Linked DNA regions of Homo sapiens: region 1 is linked to region 2. Evidence: promoter capture Hi-C in 16 types of primary human blood cells and fetal thymus (Javierre and others, 2016). All regions are on one chromosome and are shown on one strand. The core of a region is centred on a gene start or on the middle of the fragment in contact, and the rest is flanking DNA. Distances in the headings are between cores, read along the strand shown.

Region 1 (4,808 bases), core at 982-3,481, 1.3 Mb before region 2:
GATTGTCAGATATATAACAAAGATATGACTGTGTTCTAATTTTCTATTAACATTATGATGATAAGAAAAGATTGGCTTGTCTTTTTATTTAGGTCCTGTTAAGGAGTCTCCACATGATTACTTCTTCGTAAGTGCTTGCAAACTTTTTGTTTAATGATCTGTTCCCGCTGTCTTTTGGCATTTTTCTGGTCTTCATAATTCCACCAAGATTAAGGATAGTGGTTTGACAGTTGGGTCTACAAATCCTGTCCTAGTTGGAATCCTCAAATGCTGAAGTGAGCAAATATTCCCCATTATCATTATCCAGTAATCAAAATCATTTTAGCGACTTGATTTGGCTTCATGCTGAGCAGTAGATGTGTTCTGGGGGAAAACTATATATACATCACATTGTTATAAATTAATTCCTATTTTAAATGAACTGGGAAAGCTTGTCACAGCAGAGGATAATGCAGTGAATCCTTCTATAAGGCAAATAATTCCATTATATGAATAATCACCCTCTAATTTAGTTCTCTATGAATATGTAATGTTCAAATAATGGGGATTTCAGGGTTTTTTTTACATATGGAGATTAGAGCTGAATGTTTGCTTATATTCAATTCCTCTTTTCTTTTTTTAACATCATCATCATCATTGTCTTCAATGTTGTTTGTTGTCATCACCAGGAAAGGCACCAAATTTTAGAAATACATGAAAAGAGCTGCCTTACTAGAGGTTGTCTTATCCACCAATAAGCAGGTCTTGTTCTGTGCTGAGGAATCCTATAGCTTCCTCAGTGTCTACATTCAATGGTACAGAATGATTACCTGGTTGTGTGACCTTGGACAAATCACAAATTATATAAACTCTCTGGGTCTCAGTTTATTCATCTGTAAAATGAGAATGATGATGGCACATTACTCATGGGGTTGACTTGAGGATCAAATGTGGCAACATAGAGTGTCTATGTTATGTGTTCAATTAATGTCAGCTATTATAATTGCTTTTCGAAGTCGTATTATCATTAAACGTTCAGGTTAGACAAGCCCTCCCCTTAAAAAAATAACTATGACTGCATCACACCCATTAGAATGGCCACTATCCAAAACAAGCAAACAAATAAATGGAAAATAACAAGTATTGGCAAGGAAGCAGAGCAATTGGAACACTCGTGCACTGTTGTGGGAATGTAAGATGGTGTAGCCACTATGGAAAACAGTATGGTAGTTCCTCAAAAAACTAAAAGTAGAATTACCATATAATCCAGCAATTTCCCTTCTGGGTATATATTCAAAAGAAATGAAAGCGAGGACTCAAAGGGGTATTTGTAGACCCACGTTTGTAACAGCATGATTCACAACAGTCAAAAAGTGGAAGTGACCCAAGTGTCCATCCATGCACAAGTGGGTAATCAAAACGTGGTATATACATGCAATGGAATATTATTCAGCCTTAAAAAGAAATGAAATTCTGACACGTGCTACAACAGGGAATAACCTTGAGGGCATTATGCTAAGTGATGTAAGCCAGTCACAAAAGGACAAATACTGTATGATTCCACTTACATGAGGCACTTAGATTAGCCAAATTCATATTAACAAAATGTAGACTAGTGGTTTCTAGGAGCTGGCGACAGAAGAGAATGGAGAATTGTGTTTTGGTGAGCACATAGTTTTAGTTTTGCAAGATGAAGAGTTTTGTTGATTAATGCTAGTGATGGAAGCATAACAGTGTGAATTTACTAATGCCAATTTTAAGTGTGCAGTAAGCATACAATTAAATGTTTAAGATGGTACATTTTATGTCATGTGTATTTTACCATTTTTTTTAATAAAAAGATTTTTACTATTTTAAAATTATAAAATAACCACCATGATTAGGAGTTTTCTATACCTAGGAAATGGGAACACATCCAGTGGTAGAAGATTGTAGGGAATGGAGAAGTGACAGTGTGGCCAACCCAGAATGCTCTTTAGCAGAACTGAATGCCTGTCATAGCTGACAGATGAGCCACTCAGAACATGCTTGCATTTGTCAATGATCCCTCCAGCTGACTCCACAGTCGACTGGTTTCACAAAGCATAACACTGGTTGTGATTTGTGTCTGGGTAACCACAGCTTCCAGAGATGGGCCCTGTCCAAGAAGCTGGTATTCAAAAATTACAACTCAATTGATAGGAGAAGAGTTCACTGGTACTGGCTTAGTAATTAAATTGCGAGGTGATTATTAGTCTGCTCAGGCAAAAAGATCACATGTGAGTACTTTAAGTAGCCTAAGACTAAAAAACTCCTCCCAGAAAAAAAAAAAACAAACCTGTAACTAAATTCATACCATTTTCTGCCAATTATAGATGCCCTCCAGTGACTTTAAGGTTGCCACAGCAACATGCCCACTGAAAGGTTGTCTTAGTCCATTTTGTGCTTCTATAACAGAATACCTGAGACTGGGTAATTTATAAAGAGAAGATATGTATTTCTTACCTTTCTGGAGGCTGAAAGTCTAAGGTATAGGGGCCCACATCTTGCAAGGACCTTCTTGCTGTGTCATCCCATAGTGGAAGGTGGAAGGACAAGACAGCACACATGAGCAAGAGATCAAACTCACAGACTGAAGCCCTTTCATAATCAGCATTAATCCATTATGGGGTGGAGCCATCATGACCTAAACACCTCCTAGTAGGCCCTGCCCCCCAACGCTGTTGCATTAGGGATTAAGTTCCCAACACATGCTTTTTGTTAAAAAGAAATGTGTTAAATAATGCATTGGGACATATTCACTATAGCATAGGGCATGATTGCTAAGTCCTGAAATATATGGATATAGCAAAGAGAGAATGTTTCACATCTTATCTCTGTGTCAAGCCAAAATTTTCTTCTAGGGGTAGGACAGGTGAACTGTCACCAGGCAGCTCTCCTCTCTTCTGTGGCGCAATCTGAGGTCCCAAGCTGGCTTGCCACCTCTGCCACTGCCCCACAGGGAGCACAGCAGCCCGGCATTTCCCCTACACTGCTCCCTTCCCCTGGGTGGTCTCCCAGTCCACATAAGCTAATAGGCATCCTCCCTTGTTTTTCTGAAAACCTCCTCTGCCACCTCTCCCAAGCAGGGTTCCCTGACCAAGTGGCAGCTTGGTGCTTTCTAGAGCAGATCCCATTCAATCACCTAGCTCTGCACAAAATAAATTCAAAGGCTTCACACACCCTTTGCCTTTGTTCAAGTCCCAGACTTGCTGAAAATCAGCTGACTCCTGTGAAGGTGATAATGGGGAGTAATGCTGTGAACCACACTGATACTGAAGACACATTCCAGAAAGCTGCTGATGAGGCAAAATTTGGTCTATCAGGTCTGACATTGCATGTACCAGACGTGCTGCTACTTAAAGAAATGATGGCTACTTCTTTTGTAAAAGGGATAACCATCTTACAAAGTGTCTTTTGTGTAAATTTCTATTTTTATATATTAGTAGGTACATTTTAGAATTTAAAAAGCTGTCTTGAGTCATTTCTGGAAAGAGTGGAGTATAAACAAATCTGATAATTTTGCCAAAACGGAAAAAGAGGTGGGGTGAGGGTAGTGGATCTGCATGTGAGAAAGGGACAGAATGACAGCTCATGAAGAACCATGAGAACAGATCCTGATTCTGCAAGTTCTACTGAACCCTCAGAGGCCCTGCTGAAGATGAGGATGAGGATTACTGGGATTAGGGCACAAGCCAGTGTTGGATCTCACAGTCTGGGTCAGGCTGGGAGTGGCTCCCACAGTCTGGGCCATACTCTACTGTCTACCCGCATTATAACTGAAAAACAAAATCTAATCTCACCCTCTTGAGTCATAGAATAAAGTCCTAATTGGTCAAAACTTTTGTTCCTGGTCCCACACAGCCTATCACTTGGGTAACAGCAAAAATAATAACAATAATAACCAAAAAATAAAACCTGGTGTTACTATAAGTCCTTACTATGTGTGAAATGCCTTGTATACATCATCTCCTTTAAGCCTTATAATGACTTACTGAGATATGTTCTATTATTTCTCTCTTTTGTAGAGGAAATGGAAGCTTAGAGTTGCCCAAGGTCAAGTGGTGATAAAAGGGGAAGGCAGGATGCAAATCCTGGTGTCTGCCTCCTGAGTCCAGTCTTGAACCAATGACACACAACTAACTTTCTGGACTTCGTGCCTCCTCCTCCCCATTGCTCAGCCCCTCCCCGATGTGAGTTCCCACTTCTAAGCTCCTGCCTGCCTATCACTGGGAAAGCCCCCTTTCCAGCCCTGGTCCCATCCTATCACACTCATGCCTGGCTCGGTTCCACTTCTCCCTTGAATGTCTCTCTGCTGCTCTAGCTTACAAGGGTTGCCTTTTCCCTGAACAATCACTCTGTCTATATTACACATATGGCACACCTTGGATTTTAATATTTTACTGCCATTTCTGTTTAAAATGTGTATGTCATCTGAACTAAACTGTGAGGTTCTGTAAGCCTAAATTAATGCCCACTTTTGTGTGTGCTGGTCATTCATATTCAACTTTGAACAAATGCGTTATATATAATAAATACTAGGGTATAAAGGATCATTTAAATAATTTTTTAATGTTATCTATAAAGAGTTTTTAATAACACAGAAAATATGTGTTTAATTTTATTACATGAGAAAAGCAACATGCAAACATGCATAAGCAATGCCATCTCAGCTATTATAATTCCACATGATAAATCACGTGTAGAAAATTTGAAACATAAAATATACAGGGTAATAAATAGGGCAAGAAAGGCATGGAACCTCATTCAGATTTAGTGACTGCATCTTCATTATTTCCTGCAATCATTTT
Region 2 (4,603 bases), core at 615-3,114:
AATGATTCTAGCTGGCCTGTAACATCACTATTTCAAGCTCAAAGCTTGGGTTCTAGTCACAGCCACTAACTACCTGTGTTATTATACACAACCACTTTACCTCTCTCGACATGAGTGTCCTCCTAATTGCTACAATAAGGAAATGGAAAAAAATACGATCACTAGCTCTAACACTACAGTAAATTGTACCAGAAATTTATAAACTTTATACTTCCTTAATACAGGTGTCAATGTGCATTTTTTTCCTTTTTGGGTTTATAGTATTTGTGAAATTTTCAAACAGGTCTGTATTATAAGAAAGGGTAAGAACCACTGATAAAATATTAAAATGATATCAGTAAAAATATTATTTCCTTTTTTAGAAGATAGCTCATGACAATGCACCTTTTAAATGAAGTGTAAATGCCTCGTCTAAAAAAAATTCACCACGCTGCTTTATGAAGTAAATGTAGTAAATTCAGTCAGGAAGGGCACTGGCAAATGAAATCCACGTTGCAGGAAACTGTAAACACTGCATTTGGTCCCAGAATACGGATTTTTCCCTTGATTTGTTCCCATGCCACTTTGGTTCTTCTCACTTTCAGATCCCCCTAACCAATGCTTAGCTGGCATCTCCACTTGGCTGCTTCACAGGCACCAAAAAGTTTTCTGCCTAAAACTGAATTCTCAATCCTTCTTTCCACATCTATTCCTTTCCCAATTTTCCTCACTCTGTAAAGTGGCATCATCATGAACACGGTTCATCAAACCAGACACTTTTCATCATTCTCGACATTTCCTTCTTATATTTACTCCACCACATCCAATCCACTTTCTATCAAATCCACCTCCAAATCTATCTCAACTCATCCCTCCCCTTTTCTCCCCAATTACACTGCCCCACACGAGTCAAAGCCATCATTTGCTGCTCCCTGGACCTCTACAATAGATCCTTAAATGGTCTCTTCGCCATTACACAGACCGCCCCAAATTCGGACAGAGTGGAAATCAGATCCTGTCATTACCCCGCTTTAAATCCCTGTATTGCCTTCCACTGAATTTGGAACAAAACCCCACCTTCTTACAGAGCCCACAGGGCCCTGGAGCACCAAAATGCTTGGTTCTTAGATCCTGCCAAGCTTTTTCCTGTCTCAGGGCCTCGATATGTATTCCACCTCAATGTTCTTCGACTCGTACATCCTTAAAGTAAGATTCCATTGACTGTGCCCACTTGTTTTGAAAAGGGAGTTTATTACACAGTTGTTTTAAACAAGTTCATAACCCTAGAACTTAGGTATAGAGTGACCGCTCTAATCTAAAGCAACAGAAGGGAAATGGGAGCAGGGCAGGTCTTCCAGCAGAACACCAGCTACCATTTCTGCAGGCCTCTCCATCGATTCACCCGGGGAGCCCTGACCACCGAGGCCGAGCGGCGGGCTCCTGTGCGCAGCTGCCCCGCAGCAGGCGCCCGCGGCCTATGGCGCCGCCCCATTTTTTCTAATACTTGGACTCGAACTAGTGGGGTCACTGTTAGGCGAAGAAAGGAATGACCTCCAAGGTCACATGCAAGCAAACTTTGGTCTCAACTAAACAGGAAATTGCACCGAAATCGCTGTCGCTAGCGCCTTACAAGTAAGGGTTTTCTCCTTAACCCAAACAAGCCTTTCGGGCTGGGTTTTTATCACGTCCGCTCCAAAACCGAGGAGGTTGAGTGAACTTCACCCCACGACCCCGACTCTCCGCGGCGGCCGGAAGCGGAGGCCTGGCCTGGGGAGGGCAGGACCCCGAGGGGCGAGGAGAGGAGGAGGGGGCTGCGCTCACCTCGGAGCAGAGCCATGGCGGCTGCTGGGTCGTCGGCGGCGCGGGTCTGTGGTGTGGGGGACGCTGAGCGGCCGCTCGCAATCACCCAGATTTCAAGAGCGTGGGTGGCGCCCCGAGAGCCACGCCCCTGCCCTTTCACCTACTTCCTGGGGCTCCTTGGCGGGGTCCCAGCGTAAGATGGTCCTACCCCACGCGTAGCGCTGCCCGCCTCACCCCAGCCCGAGGGAGCCCAGGGGACGGGGCTCGGATAGACCACAACGCGCCTTGAGAGCGGACTCTTTCCTCACATCCTCATTTTTAGATTTTCTCCGTTTCCAAACCGAGAGAATTTGGTTTGACACCTCTCACCCATCATATCCTAGCCCCGACAGGCGATGACTCTTCCCCTTTGTCTCCGCCAACACCCTAAACACTGGGCAGGAGCCAAGGGCTGAGGAACTTGGCGCGCGGGCGGCCGCGGCCGCCAGCTGGGGGCGGGACCGAACGTCCTGTGGGCGGGGCGCGGCGGCGGCGGCGGGATTGGCTGGGGCGGGCGGGTGCGCAGTCCGCTGGGCAGAGGCTTGGGCCGCCGAGCTGGACCCGGACCGGTTTTGGGTACTGTACTGGGGGCAGGGCAGAGAGGTGGGCGGCAGTTGGGGTGCGGTGATTGTAGTAGGCTAGGGCGCTTTCGGGTCCCCATTGCAGCCCCCGGATGAGCCCGCAGTATTTTCCTTATATGATCAGGTCCCATTGCGGGCGGCGCCGCTTGCCCGGAGCCTGAGAGGATTATGAAAACGTGGCGAGCGAAATGGGGCCAGGGGACCTGGAGCAGGGGCGTGAGGAGAGTAGGCAGCGGGTGAGGCTGGACGGGAGGGAGGTCTAGGGAGGCCTCTGCCGCGGGCACTGTGAGTCCTGGCCGATGATGACGAGACCACTGCGCAATCTGAGTTCTGGGAACCAGGTGATGGAGTATGTTCTGAGAACAGACTGAGGCCGGGCAAGCAGGAGGCGGCCGCGGCAGGGGAGAGGCGGAGAGCCCCTCGATACCAGGGCTCGGAGGGCCGGGCTGCCTAGCGAGGGCTTCTTTTGAGTGCGTAGGGGTGGTGGGTGGCATGGACGGTTTCTCTGAGTCGTCAGCGAATGCCCCCCCTAGAATCCTGCTTTTCAAACACTTTGGTGACACTCTTGCAATGTTGGGGTGTTTTTAAATCCAAATTTGTATTATGAAAACTTACAAACTTACAGAAAAGTGGGAAGACTTGTACAGTGGACACATATCGACCCAATTGTTAACATTTTGCTATATTGCTATCCACCTGTTCTTCCATCAAACCATCTTATCTTTTTAATGCAGACCTTAGTACTCTACACCCATGAACACATCAGCACACATTATTCATTTACAGTTCTTTTTAAGGCAAAATATCCACGCAATCAAATGTACAAATCTTAGACAAGCTTCACAAATGCTCATGTATAGGCCGGGCGCCGTGGCTCACGCCTGTAATCCCAGCACTTTGGGAGGCCGAGGTGGGCGGATCACGAGGTCAGGAGATCGAGACCATCCTGGCTAACACGGTGAAACCTCATCTCTACTAAAAATACAAAAAAATTAGCTGGGCGTGGTGGCGGGCGCCTGTAGTCCCAGCTGCTGGGGAGGCTGAGGCAGGAGAATGGTGTGAACCTGGGAGGCGGAGCTTGCAGTGAGCCGAGATCGTGCCACTGCACTCCAGCCTGGGTGACAGAGCAAGACTCCGTCTCAAAAAAAAAAAAAAAAAAAATGCTCATGTATAGAGTGTTCATTTTTGTACACAGTTTTCTATTCAGTTTGCCTCTACATATTTAAGAAAGGTTAAGTATCACAACTTCCCACTGCAGATCACCATCAGTAGGTCTTTATAGATGTACTGTGTTTTCTCTAATTGGAAATGTCACTAATGAGTGGATTCTAACACCATTCAGTGAAAGGTTTACATATATTAAAACACGTAAATATATGAGAGAATATTGACATAGTCTCCAAGTCTCATGAAGAGGAAAGGGTACCTTTACAATGGATAAATCTTGCGGGTATTACTTCACCAAATTATGAAGTAATGGTGTCCCATCACCAATAAAGGGACAGACTGACGTCATGCGCTCCCCTTGCTACAGCGACAACACAATCTCACTTGCGTAGAATTTCTGCTGAAAACATCTGGCCTGAATCTAATTATAAGGAAACAATGAGACAAATCCACATGGAGGTACATTCCACAGAACAACTGACCTGAACTCTTTAAAAACATCAGTGTGGTGAAAAACAAAAAATGGCTAAAATAGGAATAGTATCACATTAAAGGAGACTAGATATGTGACACATATTGTATGAGATCCTTAATTAAAACCTGGGTTAAAAAAATACTCTAAAAGACAGTATTGGGACAACTGGAGAAACATATAAATTATAGATGACATGGTAATATTGACATTAAGTTTCCTGATCATGATAATTATATTGTAGTTATGTAGAAGATTGTCCTTTGTTCTAAGGAAATACATACTGAAATATATGGGGGTGAAGAATCATGAGCTTGCAGATGACTGGAAAAAATGCATTTATATATATACAGTTATGTGTTGCTTAACCACGAGAATCCATCCTGAACGATGTGCTATTAGGCGATTTCGTCATTGTGTGAACATCATAGATTTCACTTACACAAACCTCAATGGTAGAGCCTACTACACACCTAGGCTATATGGTACAGCCTATTGCTCCTAGGCTACAAACCTGTATAGCATTTTACTCTACTGAACACTGTAGGCAGTTGTAGCAAGTAGT

What was found. The method cuts DNA at HindIII sites, captures the fragments that hold promoters and counts their contacts. A CHiCAGO score of 5 or more calls a contact.
Region 1: a contact is called between a fragment that was not itself captured here and the fragment with the promoter of ACAA2 in region 2, in 1 of 17 cell types (monocytes). The highest score is 5.1, in monocytes.

The regions. Positions count from the first base shown.
Region 1 is chr18:48,527,966-48,532,773 of GRCh38, forward strand. No RefSeq gene overlaps it. Among named protein-coding and RNA genes, the nearest start is that of CTIF, 8.7 kb to the right of the region's middle. The HindIII fragment of the contact is 3,607 bases long and covers 429-4,035 here.
Region 2 is chr18:49,811,669-49,816,271 of GRCh38, forward strand. It overlaps ACAA2 (acetyl-CoA acyltransferase 2), which reads right to left and starts at 1,865. Exons shown (of 10, transcript NM_006111.3): 1 at 1,801-1,865. The coding sequence starts at 1,816. SNHG22 (small nucleolar RNA host gene 22) reads left to right here and starts at 2,355. Exons shown (of 4, transcript NR_117096.1): 1 at 2,355-2,394. It also overlaps SCARNA17. RefSeq lists silencers at 1,658-1,777, 1,671-1,965, 2,208-2,377. The HindIII fragment of the contact is 2,119 bases long and covers 1,117-3,235 here.